2 separate regions of the Homo sapiens genome follow, and region 2 is linked to region 1. Evidence: promoter capture Hi-C in human tissues and cell types (Jung and others, 2019). All regions are on one chromosome and are shown on one strand. Each heading gives the region's core, a stretch centred on a gene start or on the middle of the fragment in contact. The rest is flanking DNA. Distances are from core to core; before and after follow the strand shown.

Region 1 (7,223 bases), core at 2,902-5,401:
CCGGCCCGGTAGTAGGTGTTTTTGAACTTCTGCCCACTGACCCTCTCTAGTCCCGGGAACCAGAAGAAAAAGAACCTCCACCCCCTAACATGGCTTCCTTTCCAAGCTGGAGATGAAGGCTGTGAAGCCTGATTGTCATAGGTATGCCCAGGTACCTGTCCCGCTGCCCTGATGTCTATGGGAGTCCCCTAGCCAGCCCCTGGCCCAGCACCATCAGTGTGCTGTAAAAATGTTATTTTTGTGGCCGGGTGTGGTGGCTCACGCCTGTAATCCTTGCACTTTGGGAGGCAGAGGCAGGCAGACCACAAGGTCAAGAGATCGAGACCAACCTGGCCAACATGGTGAAACCCCGTCTCTACTAAAAATAGAAAAATTTGCCGGGTATGGTGGCGGGCACCTGTAGTCCCAGCTATTCGGGAGGCTGGGACAGGAGAATGGCTTGAACCTGGGAGGCGGAGGTTACAGTGAGCTGAGATCGTGCCACTGCACTCTAGCCTGGCGACAGAGCGAGACTTCATCTCAAAAAAAAAAAAAAAATTTGTATGTGTGTTAGCTCTCATGGTCCTACCACTGTACACCCCAGGTCAGGAGACAGGTCAATGTATGCTTTAATGACACTTCCACCAATACAACTCCTGCTTCTTGGAGGCTCATGCCATCCAATTAGTTTCTCCTCTCTCCTCCTCATCTACCTCCCCAGTGCTGTTCCTCAGTTGCAGATGCCATGGGGAGCACGTCTGGTTTCCTTTTCACCCCATGTCTGTCCACCATCTTGGGATGGACGTTCACAAGGATCTCAGTTCCTTGACTATCTCATCTTCAGTGATTTTCCCCCCATTCCACTTTAGCTGGGACCCCCTCTCACATGGCTCCTCCTCTGAGGTTATTTGTTGAAACATCCATCTGTGACAATAACCTCCATCCTTCTGCTTTCCTTCATCAGTGACTTCCATTACATCTATTTGAGACCTTTAGGCCAGTGATACCTGTTTTTCTGGAATTCTCTTGCTTCCCTATCCAGCATACTTTCTATGGCTCATTGTTTTAAGCACTCTTAAAAGCTGATATGACCCCATCACACCTGTCTGGCAAAATCCTTCCTTGGATCAATCCAACTTCTCATTCTTTGGGTGTGTGTATCGTGACTGCTCCAACTAGCTATAGAATAATCACACTAGCCATCATATTAGTATCACCATACATTTAGTCTCCATTCTCAACTGGGCCCTCAATACTGTCCTTGAAATCCTACCATATATCACTGCATGCCAACTTACCACAGTAACTACAGTATTTCAAACCCATAGTCGAACTTGACTACAAGGCTTCTTAAGGGTAGGGTCCCCGTCTGGCTTTTTCACCACTGAATCTCAATAGGCACTCAATAAGTATTGCTTACTGACTGAGGTATACTCATACTGGTAGGCATTAGTAAATAATAGTCACATGCCAGGCTCTGTTATATGTAAGCTACATGTATTAGGTCATTCTATCCTTGCAACAAACTAATGAGGTTATGTAGGACTTCTGTCATTCCCATTTTCCAGGTAAAGATAAGAATATTTAGAGAAGCAACTTGGAGAGATGAAGTCACAAAACTTGTAAGTGGCAGAGTGAGTATTCACTTTTTATTTTTCTAATTTTTTTTTCAAGACAGGGCATTGCTCTTTCATCCAGGCTGGAGTGCAGTGGCATGATCACGTCTCACTGCAGCCTTGACCTCCCAGGGCTCAAGCAATCATCCCATCTCAGCCTCCCAAGCAGCTAGGACTACAGGCATTCACCACCACACCTGGCTAAAAAAAATATATGTGTATATGTGTGTGTATATATATATTTTTTTATTTTTTATTTTTTTGAGACAGACTCTCACTCTGTTGTCCAGGCTGGGCTGCAGTGGTGTGCTCACTGCAACCTTCACCTCCCAGGTTCAAGCGATTCTCCTGCCTCAGCCTCTCAAGTAGCTGGGACTACAGGTGTGTGCCACATGCCTGGCTAATTTTTCGTATTTTTTTTTTTTTTTTTTTAGTAGAGACAGGGTTTCACCATGTTAAGACAGGATGGTCTTGATCTTCTGACCTTGTGATCCGCACCCCTTGGCCTCCCAAAGTGCTGGGATTACAGGCATGAGCCACCGTGCCCGGCCTATATAGAGATAAATTTTTTAAGGTAGTGATGGGGTCTCACCATGTTGCCTAGGCTGGTCTTGAACTCCTGGGCTCAGATGATCTTCCTGCCTTGGTCTCTCAAAGTGCTAGGAAATATTTACTCTTTAGAATCTATAACTGCTTAGCAGTTTTAGATAGGTCGAGTTTTATGTGTCTAGGAGACAGTCAGGCAGCTGTGCTTCAGATTGGAACTCGAGAGAGAGAGAGAGGAAAATGGAGAGTAAGATTTAGGAAGGAACAGATAACCTGGTGACCTCAGAAAATCAAATATCCAAACTTGTTCACACCTGCTGCTTTGTTAGAGTGCCTCTGACAGGTCCCTGATGGAACTGTGGTGGTGTGTGTGCAAGAGTGTGTCTGGGTGCTGAGGTGCACTATTCCCCCAGTATAGATATGTGGTAAGATACCAATTACATAAAGTAATGGGATGTAGTAAGAGATCAATCACATATGGTCATGCGTGGAATGAGGATGTTTTGGTCAATGACAGAGTGCATATGATGGTGGTCCCCTAAGATTATAACATGGTCTTTTAATTGTACCTTTTCTGCATTTAGAGATGTTTAGATACACAAATACCATTGTGTTAGAATTGCCTACAGTATATGGTACAGTAACATGCTGTACAGGTGTGCAGCCTAGAAGCAATAGGCTAATACCAAACAGCCTAGGTGTGTAGTAGGCTCTGACATTGTGTAAGTACAGTCTATGATGTTTACACAACCACAAAATCAGCTAACGATGCATTTCTTGTGTCCTCATCATTAAGTGATGGATGACCATATTTGAAATACATGGGTAGACCCACCGTGTTTTTTGTTTTTTTGTTTTGAGACAGAGTCTCTGTCACCCAGGCTGGAGTGCAGTGGCCTGATCTTGGGTCACTGCAACCTCTGCCTCCCGGGTTCAAGCCATTCTCCTGCCTCAGTCTCCTGAGTAGCTGGGACTACAGGTGCACACCACCACGCCAGACTAATTTTTGTATTTTTAGTAGAGACAGGGTTTCACCATGTTGGCCAGGCTGGTCTCGAACTCCTGATCTCAAGTGATCTGCCCTCCTCGGCCTCCCAAAGTGCTGGGATTACAGGTGTGAGCCACCGTGCCTGGCCCCATGGCATATTTATTAATAAGTTTAAAATTGGGCAGGGGTCCCTCAGGGCTGAAATTCAACCTTGAGTTTTTTCTTTTGCTAAGGTGCGTTTTTGAGAGACTTCCCCAAGCATCTTTCAGGTGGGAGAACCACTCTCACTGCACTCCCTGAATCCTTTTTCCCCCTTCATCGTGGCTTTCTCTACTGATTTCCTCCGTGAGAGAGGAAGGGAGCAGCATGAGACACACTGAACTTCTGCCCTGTGCCAGTCCTCCTACATCTCCTGGAAACCTCCCAGCAGGGCTTGAGGAAGATTATTGTCACCTCCATATTACAGATATTATAATAAGAGAAATAACTAACATTGACTGCATGTTTACTATGTGTCAGGCACTATGCTGGGTGTTTTTCAAGCATCATCCCATTCGATTCCCACAGCAATATACTCTAAAGTTGAAACTATTGCCCTGGATGGGAAAACCCGAGGCTCAGAGAGAAGTGTCACATCCTAGGACACACAGCAAGTTATAAGAGCTGGCATTTGAACCCAGGTCTTTCTCAGAGAGGCTGAGCTGCCTCATCACTCATTTCTGGACGAACTAAGGGCTTTTCTCCGTGGAAATGGGGAGAAAGAAGATTCGATGGAGAAGCCTAACACTGATTCCTGCTCAAGGCAAGTCCAGGCACTGGCGCATCTTGCCAGAACTCAGTCTCCGACCCAGGCCTTTCCCTGCACTGGAGAAGCGGCGCGCATGCGCCCGGCCTCCCTCCCGGCCCCGCCCCGCGGGAAGCTACCGCTCCTTGCTTTCAGCTCTGGGGCTTGCGCACTACGTCCCCAGCCAGAGGCTCCTTCCCGGTCGGGGACTTCCGGAACGCCGGGGTGTGGTTCCGGGTCGTGTGCGGCTCGGGGTAATAGGGCTGCTGCTCGGCCGGCCGGCGGCGGCGAGCAGCAGGGGCATGAGGGCTAACCCGGGAAGCGGCAGCTGAGCGGGCCGGGAGGAGCGCCGGTCCCCGTGGATCCCGAGAGTGCAGAGCTCGGGGCAGGGGCCGGGAGGCGTGGGGGAGCCGGGCCCTCCCCTCAGGAACGTGTCCCGGGGCCGACCCGGCCCGTAGTGTGGAAGCAGCTTCAGGTAAAGGTTGCCCCAGCCGCCAGCTCCCCGCCCGTCCGTCAGCCCACCAGCTTGCCCACCTGGCGGCCCTCTCACCCCTCCAGTTTCAGCGCTGCCCGGCGGGCCGCCTGCCGGGCCCTTGTTCAGGTGGCCCGGGCGCGTTCGTTTCCTGGCCATTTCCAGAACTGGAGGCTGTCAGGAGTCTGAGGCGGGTGTGTGGTTTAGGGGAAAAGAAGCCAGCTGACCTGGTAGTGTGGGGGTGGGGGGTGTAGTTGACTCCGGCAGTTTCTGGGCCTGCACTTGGCAATATCTAGGTGCCCTGGTCTTCATAATGTGAAAATCAAGGTTTTCAAGCATTGACTGTGTGGTCCTTGTTTCCTTGCGTCCCTTCTCCCCCTCCCCCTTAAAGAGGTTAACAGCCTTACAGACTTTTTTCTAGCTACAGTGCTGCTGGAACTTTGATTCATTCTTTGTTTATGGGAGTGGCAAGGAGTCATTTAGATTTGTTTAAGGCTGGGAAAAAGAGATTGTAGCGTAAACAAGATTATGACTTTAACCAGAGACCCCCAAATTGACTCAGAAATTGGTTAAAACTTCCTTTTGAATGAATGAAAGTCACTTTGGAAGCCCACCACAGTACCTGGCACTGTACAAAGCACCATGTTGTTATAAACCCAAATCGGCAAAGTTCAAAACTTTCCCAGGTGTGAAGAGTCAAATGGAGACCCATTGGTTTAAAAAAAGCAGCGTTCTCATTCTCTGACAAGCAGGAGAGGTGGATCCGTAATGTTAAAACCCACTTGAGCAGAAGCCTAGATATGGGTTTTATTCCTTATATTTTATGAGCCCACACAAGGTACCTAGTAAACACGGAAAGAGTTCTTGATGAAGCAATAATTGTTTTCATGTTTTTCAGTTTACACACCTGCGGGATTTGGGGCATGCTGGTAGCCCTTTCCCATTCATCTGTGTGCTCATGCCTACCTTCAACTACTGTGTGTCCCAGACTGCACTTACACCCCCTTACATCTCCTAATCTGGCTCCTGGTTACCTTTCCAGTTATGCTTGAAAAGGTCTCCTTCTTTAATTACCCCATCCTGATCCATTACTCTGAATAAGTAGGATCTCTAATCATTTTTGTTCTTTCCTATTCCATTGATTTTTGTAGAACATTCTCCCTACCTTGCCTAGGTTTCCCCTTTTCTCTTTCAGTCTATTGAGACGCTTCCCACGGCTCAGCTGAGTTGGCCTCACCCAACCAATTCAGGACAACCCCACCTGGAAATGATTTTTCCTCTAGAATTCTATAAGCGCTCATTTTTATCTACAATTATTTAACTTAGCAAATGTTTACTGAATATGGATATGTATATATATGCCAGGTACCATGCTAGGCAATTAGAGATAAATATAAGATTCAGTCTTTGCTGCCAGGGAGCTCAATTTAGTGAAAGAGAGATAAGGGAAATGAATAATTCTAACACCGTGATAAGTACATTGTGTGAGAGTTCTTGTGACAGTGGTAGGTGCGGGAGGGGAATGGGTTATTCACCTTTGAGGGATGGGATGTGGCCAGGTAATGCTTCATAATTTGAGGTAAACTAAACTTTGAGTATTTGGGTATTATATAGGGGTTTCTATTGTTTAATCATTTTAACCTCAATTTACAGATTAGGAAGACCCATAATAAATTACACAGCTGGTAGGAGACAGAGCCAGGATTCAAACCCAGGTCTGTCTGATGCCTAAATCTGTGCTTTTTCCATTACATGTCTTGCCTTTTTCTCACATCATCTCCCTCTTTTTATGCAAGTACATATTGAAACCAAAAGTTATATAGGACAAAACATATGAATGTTAAAATGAATGGTACAGAAATCTTTTAAATGTAAAGACTGTGCTCTTCCAAGGCAAGGAGATGGCAGGTAGGTTAGTTAGCTCAGCTTTGAATATGAGCAGAGAAGACAGTCTATAGAAAATAGGCATGGACTCTGGATTCAATTCCTGGTCCCTGTTCTTACAGGATATGTGACCTTCGACACATAACTCCAAGCATCACTTTCTTCAACTAGGGGTTGGGTTAGGGAATAATATTGACCACATGGAGTGTTGTGAATATTTATTGAACTAATGGGGATAAAGGGCCTGGTACGTGGTAAAGTCCCCCGAAATAAATAGCTATAAGATACAAAGGTATAATGCTTGAGGCATGGTTTTAGACTGGTGAGTGAGTTTACAGCCTGAGTCATGCAAGTCATTGCTTCTTTTAGCAGGGTACAAGGACGTAAAGTTGGAGGGGCGGTAGGGGTCAGAGTCAGTGAGGGCTTGAGTACCAGGCAAGGGAGGTAAATTCCAGTTTCTGCTAATAACTTTTCCAGTTAATAAATACTTCGAGGATCTACGATTCATTTCAGCAGTGCCAAGCAAAATGTTAGACCTTGGGGATACAAAAAGAAGTAAAATTGGGTCCCTATCCTGAGGTTATTGACATTCTAGTAGAGGAGATGTCTGTGTGTGTGCAGGTGAACCATAATAAAGTACTGTGGGTTCTAAGGTAGAAGTCCCCAGGAGGTACCATAGAACACTGAGAAGGAAACACTGATGATGGTAGGTAATGAGTACTTACTCTGCTGGTGTGATGTTAAATGCTTTATCTCATTTTTTTCTCGTGTGAGAAGGTGTTATTAGCATCCTGATTTTACAGATGAGGAAACTGGGGCACAGAGACCTTGAATAACTTCCTTGAGTTTATGCTGCTGGTAGAGCTGTAAGATAGAGGGGATTATCTGCTGAACACTGAGATCGGCACTCTTCATTACTACACCATGTTGCTTGTTCTTTGTGATGTGGATGCG
Region 2 (7,223 bases), core at 2,416-4,915, 460 kb before region 1:
TCCATCCCATCTACAGCATCCCATCTGCCCCTGGTCCTTGGAGCTGGCTCCTTAACACTGGCTTCAGGCATTTCATTCCTTCCTGTGTCACCTCCCTGTGTTGTCACTTCCACCGGGTGTCCACACTGGCCTCCTCGCTGTCTCCCTGACTCCAGCTTCCTCCATTCAATCCACTCTCTACCCAGCAGCCAGGGCAGTGATTATAAACTGCCCATCCGACACTGCAGCCCTCTGCCTGCCATGCTAGTAGACCACAGATGACTAACTGGGTACCCACAATCCTTTGCTCTCCCCTTTCTCTCCGTCCTCACCTCTCACCCCTACCTCAACATCATCAATACACCCATGCAGCTGGCTCGCTTCTCACTTGCCCAAGCTGTTCCTGCAGCCTGGAACACTCCTCTTTCTCATTTTCTGATGGTTCTTCAAGACTAAGGAGACAGGGCAAACCTTCTCTTACCTGCTGGTGAGGCCAGGTTCCTCCTCTGTCCCCAGAACGCATGTGCTTCCCCTGCTGGAGAACCTAACGCATAAGGTAGGTATCAACTGCTCACAGAAGGCTTCATCTCCTCATTCCCTCCCAGCCTGTAAGCACCTCCAAGGATTGTGTCCCACACATCTCTGTACCCTCAGGGGCACTGGAGGTGCTCAGTAAATGCTGTGATAACAGCGAACATTTACAGAGCACCTACTATGTGCCGGATACAATGCCAAGTACTTTGCATGCATTTTCTCATATTCATCCTTCTCAAGAATGAATAAGTGCTTTTATTATTGCTGTTTTGGCCATGAGGAAATTGAGGCACAGAAAGCCTAAGTAACTTGCTTTAGGTCACACAGCTTACTAGCAATCATGGAGCCGAAATGTGAATCCAAGCTCTGACTCCTTCATTTGTCTTTTGAACTACATTGTCAATTTTGTTTCCTGTTCCCTTTTCCACTGAGCAATTTCATGACCCATGCCAATAAATATCATTCATAACATGATTTTTGTGGGTCCACAGCATTCCATCATATTGATGCAACATAATTTGCTTAACCAATCCTGTTATTAGCATATGTCCGATGGTGTGACTTTTTTTTTTTCCTTTTGAGATGGAGTCTTGCTCTGTCACCCAGGCTGGAGTGCAGGGATGCGATTTCAGCTCACTGCAACCTCCGCCTCTGGGGTTCAAGTGATTCTCATGCCTCAGCCTCCCCAGTAGCTGGGATAACAGGTGCCCGCCACCTTGCCCAGCTAATTTTTGTATTTTTGGTAGAGAAGGGGTTTCACCACGTTGGCCAGGCTGGTTTCAAACTCCTGACATTGGGTGATCTGCCTGCCTCCACCTCCCAAAGTGCTGGGATTACAGGCATGAGCCACTGCGCCCTGCCCGACTTTATTATTTTTTAAATGGTTAGCCAATTACCCCAACACTATTTTTTAAGTAACTCATGTTTTTTCCTACTGATTTGAAATGCCACGTTTATCATATATTAGTTATGTATACTCATGTTTTTTATATCATGTGTTTAATTTTACCAATTCAAAGTGTATTGAACTATAATATCCTCGTGATGCATTTTTTTTCATTCATTCACTCAGTAACTTGCTCATTCAATGAATATGTATCGAGTAGTTCTGTGGACCAGGTACTGTTCTAGAAACCAAGATTCCACCGTGGGCAATGGAGCAGTGACAACACCGCATCACCCTCTTGCTTCTTGCATTTTAATATCTGACCTTAGAAGTTGCTTTTGCCTCTGCCGGGTGTGGTAGCTTATGCCTGTAATCCCAGCACTTTGAGAGGCCCAGGCAGGCAGATCACTTGAGCTCAGGAGTTTGAGACCATCCTGGCCAACATGGCAAAACCCTGTCTTTATTTAAAAAATACCAAAAAAAAAAAAAATTTAGCTGGGCATGGTGGCACATGCCTGTATTCCCAACTACTCAAGAGGCTGAGGCAGGAGAATTGCTTGAATCCAGGAGGCAAATGTTGCAGTGAGCCGAAATCACACCACTGCACTCCAGCCTGGGCAACAGAGCAATACTCTGTCTCAAAAAAAAAAAAAAAAAAAAAAAAAAAAAAAAAAATTTGCTTTTGCCCCAATCAATTGCATTTATCAAGATGTTCTTAGGCATTCTTGACTATTTATAATTCCCAGTGAGCTAACATTGCAAGTAAGAAAATACATTTGGGATTTAATTGGAATGGAATTAAATGTATGGATTAATCTTAATGGAATTGACAAATTTTCATCTTCTTTCCCATGAACACAGCAGGTGTTTCCATATAGTCAATTCCTACTTTTATGTTAAGTTGAGCTTCACACATTTATTGCTAAGTTTGTTGCTGGATATTTTCTATTTTTGTTGTTACGGTGAATGTCATCTTTTTTCCATCATATATTCTAGGTGATTAATGCTAGTACATAGGAAAGGCATCGATTTTTGAATAAATCTTTTAAGTCAGCATCTTACTGAATTCTCTGATTAATTGTAATAGTCCCTAGTTGATCTTTTGAATTTTCTAGGTAAATAATCATAAAATATGTGAAAAATAATTTTGAGCCTTTCTTTTTTATAGTTTTACCACTTATTGTGTTTCTTTCCTTTTGCATTGACCAGTGCAAGATATCTGAAGTGCAATGGTAAGTGTTTAACAACCAGCTGTCCAGGAGAAATAACCCTGATTTGTAGCACTTGCCCATTTCTGTGGTCTAAACACTGCTACCATGGCTGATGTCAAGCCACACCGATGTCACTGGACAAGAAATTAAAAACAGATGCATACCTTTGCTCTTATGAGCCAGCTCGAGCACACCACTGAATAGAACACTAGACCATGAGATGGTTTGTGAGGAAAAAATACTGTGGTCAAAAATAAAATTGGACCTGCCAATTCTGCAGGTTACAACATACATGAGCATATCAAAGTCTCTGAGAAATCCAACATTTCATCATATTGATGCAACATAGTTGGCTTAACTAATCTTGTTATTAGTATAACATATTATACCAATATGTTATATGGGAAATACAACATATTTCCCAAATTTATTTGACTAATACAAAAAGTCGGAATATAGAACATCACAAAGGATTGGCTAAACAGTTGATGCCGTGATAACTTCATGGTTCCCCAGCCTCTAACGGTTCCCATCGTTGCCTAGCAGTTCTTCCCCTGGTCAGCTCTCTGTCCTGGCCTCCATTCTTGCCAACCTTCCCTGCTCTCCTCAAACCTCCCCCGCTCACCATCCTCTCCCTGTCTGTTAGAGGATGATGCCATAGCGCTCCCTCCCCATTGAACGTGCAGGCTCATCTCCATCAGCACTCCCCATCACTTCATTCCCTCTTGGTTGGTGGAGGAGACTGGGACTTCTATAGAATGAATCCTGCATCAGTACCAGTATTCCAGCTGCTGGCTGCCTCCACCTCTGGGGACCAAGGCCAACCAGCCATCCCTTCCCTCTCTGCTGGAGACTTCTCATCAACATCTAAACATGCTCGAGTCTCTCTCTACCCCGAAAACAAGCAAACAAAACCAATTCCTCACCTTCAGCCTCTCTGTATGTCTGTATGGGACCTCACAGTCAGGATTCCCCAAAGAATTGTCTGCTCTGTTCTCTTTTCTCCCATGGATTCCTTGACCTGCTTAAATCTGGCTTCTTTTTCCAATTCTTTACTGAAACAACGTCCAACAAGATCAACAATGATGTACCTGTCACTAAATGCGGTCACTGCTTCGTAGCCCTCACCTTCCCAACATGGCAGCTCCTGACCCAGTTCCCAGCCCTCTCCAGTGAGACATCCTCTGCCTTCCTGACTCCACGTCCTTGGACTTTCTCCACCTTCCCTGCCACCGAGCCTCCTCTTCTGGCCTCTTCCAGCCCATCTCAGTGTCCCTCAGAATCCCTCCCCAGTGTCCCTCTCCCCTAGACTTGCGCTCAAGGGAGTCACCACCTCCCAGGTGTCAAGCTTCCCCTCTGCACTATGGACTCCCAGGTCTCTCCAAGCCCAGAGCAGATATTTGAAATGGCATTCCATGGACCTTTGGGGAGAAATAATGGTGATGAACGATGGTGACCTGGGATTTTCATTCAAGCCAGAGCAATGAGATTATGGCTCTGGAATAAGAAGCAAGACCACTTGCCTTCCACACCGAGTTGCTTGGCCTCTGCCCTAAGTTTATGGGTTGGTGGAAAGAGGTTCTTCGAGGAGTGAACCAAGGACGAATCGTTCCATTGTTCTCTAACTCATCAGCCAGAAAACTCACCCCAAACTCATCACCGCTGCCCACAGGCCATGTTTTAGGGGGCTGATAGAGGAGTCCTCTTCCCACCACATCAGTGACAGCAGCCAACAGAAGGACAATAAAGAGAGGGCACCGGAGGCAGGGTTAGAGCTGGCGGCAGCAGCTGGCTGTTTGCAAACCACATGGCAACTGGGTGCCCTGGGCCGGGCTCCCCCAGCACACTGCACTGTGGTTATAGGTGGATGCTGAGCTTAAACTCCCTCCTTTGCAAGTTTTGATGAGGACCCTCTCGGGGGCATGGGGTGTCCAGCTTTTCCACTGGGTGGGTGCTCAGAGACAAAAATATTTCATATTTGTCACTACCGATGTCCCCAATTATTAACTGATGGTCTTAAGTAAGCTAGCTAACCTCTCTGAAGCTGCATTCTCTAGCCTGTGAAATGGGAATACTATTAGTTGTTATTGTGGGGCCAGAGGCTCCCTGCACAGGGCTCAGTACATGGTCGCCAGCAATGCCTGCAGCTGTGGGCCCCACTGAAGCCATCCTGTCCTCTGACTGGGGGAGGGAAGGTCTCCATGCCCATGCAGAGGGGATGAAAAGCCCCCTGCCCAGCAGGGGACTCTGTGCCCGCTTCCCTCTGTCACCAAGGCCTATATTAAGAACATTAAATGTCAGCGCAGACGCTTTAACTGCTCATGTGCGGGTGAGAGGCAGGTGGGGCACAGGTGTGTCGGGGGAAGAGAAAGTCGGGAGGTAGAAAAAGCAAGGAGGCAGCGGTGGGGGGCGGGTAGAAGAGCAAGACTGAATTCATTAGGACCTGCAGGAACAGGAGGAAGTGGGAAGCCGGAGGAACGAGCAGGCCCTGTGTATGGGACGTTGGTGAACAGTCCAGGAAGGCTGTAGGGTCCAGGGGCAGCCTGACGCCCCACAGGTCAGGAAGGGCCTGCTTTGAGCCTCTGCTTGAAGCCCCTGCAAAAATTTCCACTGGAAGAGAGGATGGGGTTGGTGGAAAGAGCCTCCCGGAAAGCAGACTGTCTGCGAAGGCGGCTGTCAAAGCAAGGCCCTGTTGCTAAGGGAACCGCCCGGGAAGATCCAGAGTGTGGAGATGAAGTCACCCCACCTCCCCGGCAGCCGTGGGGTTCAGGAGGGGTCCAGGGCTTCATCCGAGTCTGGATTGCTGCCTCCCCAGACAGGCGTTGGTCCCTGGAGGGCAGAGACCCTTTCTCCTCTGACTGTGCCCAGATGGGGCTACTCATTAGCAGGCTGGGCTGTGTTGATGACTGTTACAATGATGGCAAAAGAAAGCTGGGATAAAGGGGCCCGGGGGCAAACGGGCTTGGAAAAGCCCTGTTGAAGGACGGTCTAGTGCCAGGGAGTTCTAGAACCTCAGGCCATCTCCCCACAGCACAACATTTTGATTCCACATGAGGGTTTAAGGGACTCACCAAGGGTCTTCAATTAAATTGGGATGAGAATGGCTTTAAGCTAACCTGAGAATTGAAGCCATCAGGGTACGCAAGAAAGACACATACAGGCCAGGCGCGGTGGCTCACGCCTGCAATCCCAGCACTTTGGGAGGCTGAGGCAGGCAGATCATCTGAGGTCAGGAGTTCGAACCCAGTCTGGCCAACATGGTAAAACCCCATCTCTACTAAAAATACAAAAATTAGCCAGGCGTGGTGGCGGGCGCCTGTAGTCCCAGCTACTCAGGAGGCTGAGGCAAGAGAATTGCTTGAACCCAGGAGGCGGAGGTTGCAGTGAGCCGGATTGTGCCACTGCACTCCAGTCTGGACAATAGAGTGAGACTCTGTCTCAAAAAAAAAAAAAAAAAAAAAAAAGACGCATGCAGCTTAGACACATTGGGCTTCAGTTTCCGGCCCCAGCTGCCCACAGGGACCACTCAAGAGCTTTGAAACACACCATGCTGGGCCACACACCCCAGGGAGTCTGACGTCACTGGTTGGGGGTGAGGCCGGGGCTTCAGAGCTTTTTAACACTCCCACGTGACGCCCATGGGCAGCCAAGGGTAAGAACCACTAAGGTGTGGTCACTTCTTCTAAAGGTCATTCTGAAGATCTTGCACATTACACTTTTTGTTACTTTGTGAAACGTTTTATAGACAGGGAAAATAAATGATTTTCTCAGTCTTGGGTGGTGGCAGTGAGTGGCATCAGTCTCCTATCTCGGTTGGGGGGGACTCCATTCAACAGCTTGGAGAGGGGGCTGCACTGAAAAGAAGGAATATCCGCAGTACTGGAGCCAGACTGATCTTGGGCAAGTCCCAGCTCTGCCTTTGGTGACCTTAAGTGAGTTGCTCACCTTCCCTGAGCCTCGGTGTCTTTGTCTGAAAATGGAAATCATATGGAAGTTTCTAGAAGGAGGCATGAGGGCAAGGCTCCACTTATGGTGCCTGGCACAGAGTAAGGTCTCAATAGATAGGAGTTGTTATTATTGTGATCTCAAATTCATCCCACTTGGAAAAAGAGCTGGGTCCCTGCCCAACGCAGACGCCAGCTCTGAATTCCCTGCAGAGCGTCCCTGATCCCCTCAGCTAAAGCCACACACACTCAGCGCCAGGGTGTGGTACCCTCCAAGCTGATGAATGGATTCCCCCTCAACCAAGATAGGACAGTGACACCATTCATTGCCAACACCCAAGACTGAGCAAGTCATTGATTTTCCTTTGGGTGCTGGGGCACTGAGACAGAGCAGACCAGGCTCTGCCTGGGGGAACCTCCAGTCTTGAGAGGACAGGAGAAGAAAATGACGAACCTGATGCTGGCTGGTGAGGGCCACGCTGGTCTCCTGTCACCCTGGGGGGTTCAGGGTCCCCGCGCCTGAGGGCCCCTTCAGCTCCTATCTGTCTTGTCCCTAGAGCCCATCTCCTTGGCCCTGGCCCTCCCCGTCCTGGCCCCAGCACTCCACCCTTGGCGCTGCAGCTTCTGGAAAGGGAGGAGGGTAGCTAGATGCATTCGCTGAGGGTTGAC

The links. Contacts are between HindIII fragments. The study calls those that stand out against the background at their distance.
Region 2: a contact is called between a fragment that was not itself captured here and the fragment with the promoter of MAPKAP1 in region 1, in 1 of the 25 tissues and cell types used here (IMR-90 fibroblasts).

The regions. Positions count from the first base shown.
Region 1 is chr9:125,704,136-125,711,358 of GRCh38, reverse strand. MAPKAP1 (MAPK associated protein 1) reads left to right here and starts at 4,151. Exons shown (of 12, transcript NM_001006617.3): 1 at 4,151-4,388. RefSeq lists enhancers at 3,778-3,937, 3,935-4,229 and silencers at 3,938-4,107, 4,218-4,447. The HindIII fragment of the contact is 13,511 bases long and covers 1-7,223 here.
Region 2 is chr9:126,163,132-126,170,354 of GRCh38, reverse strand. No RefSeq gene overlaps it. Among named protein-coding and RNA genes, the nearest start is that of MVB12B, 160 kb to the left of the region's middle. The HindIII fragment of the contact is 6,764 bases long and covers 284-7,047 here.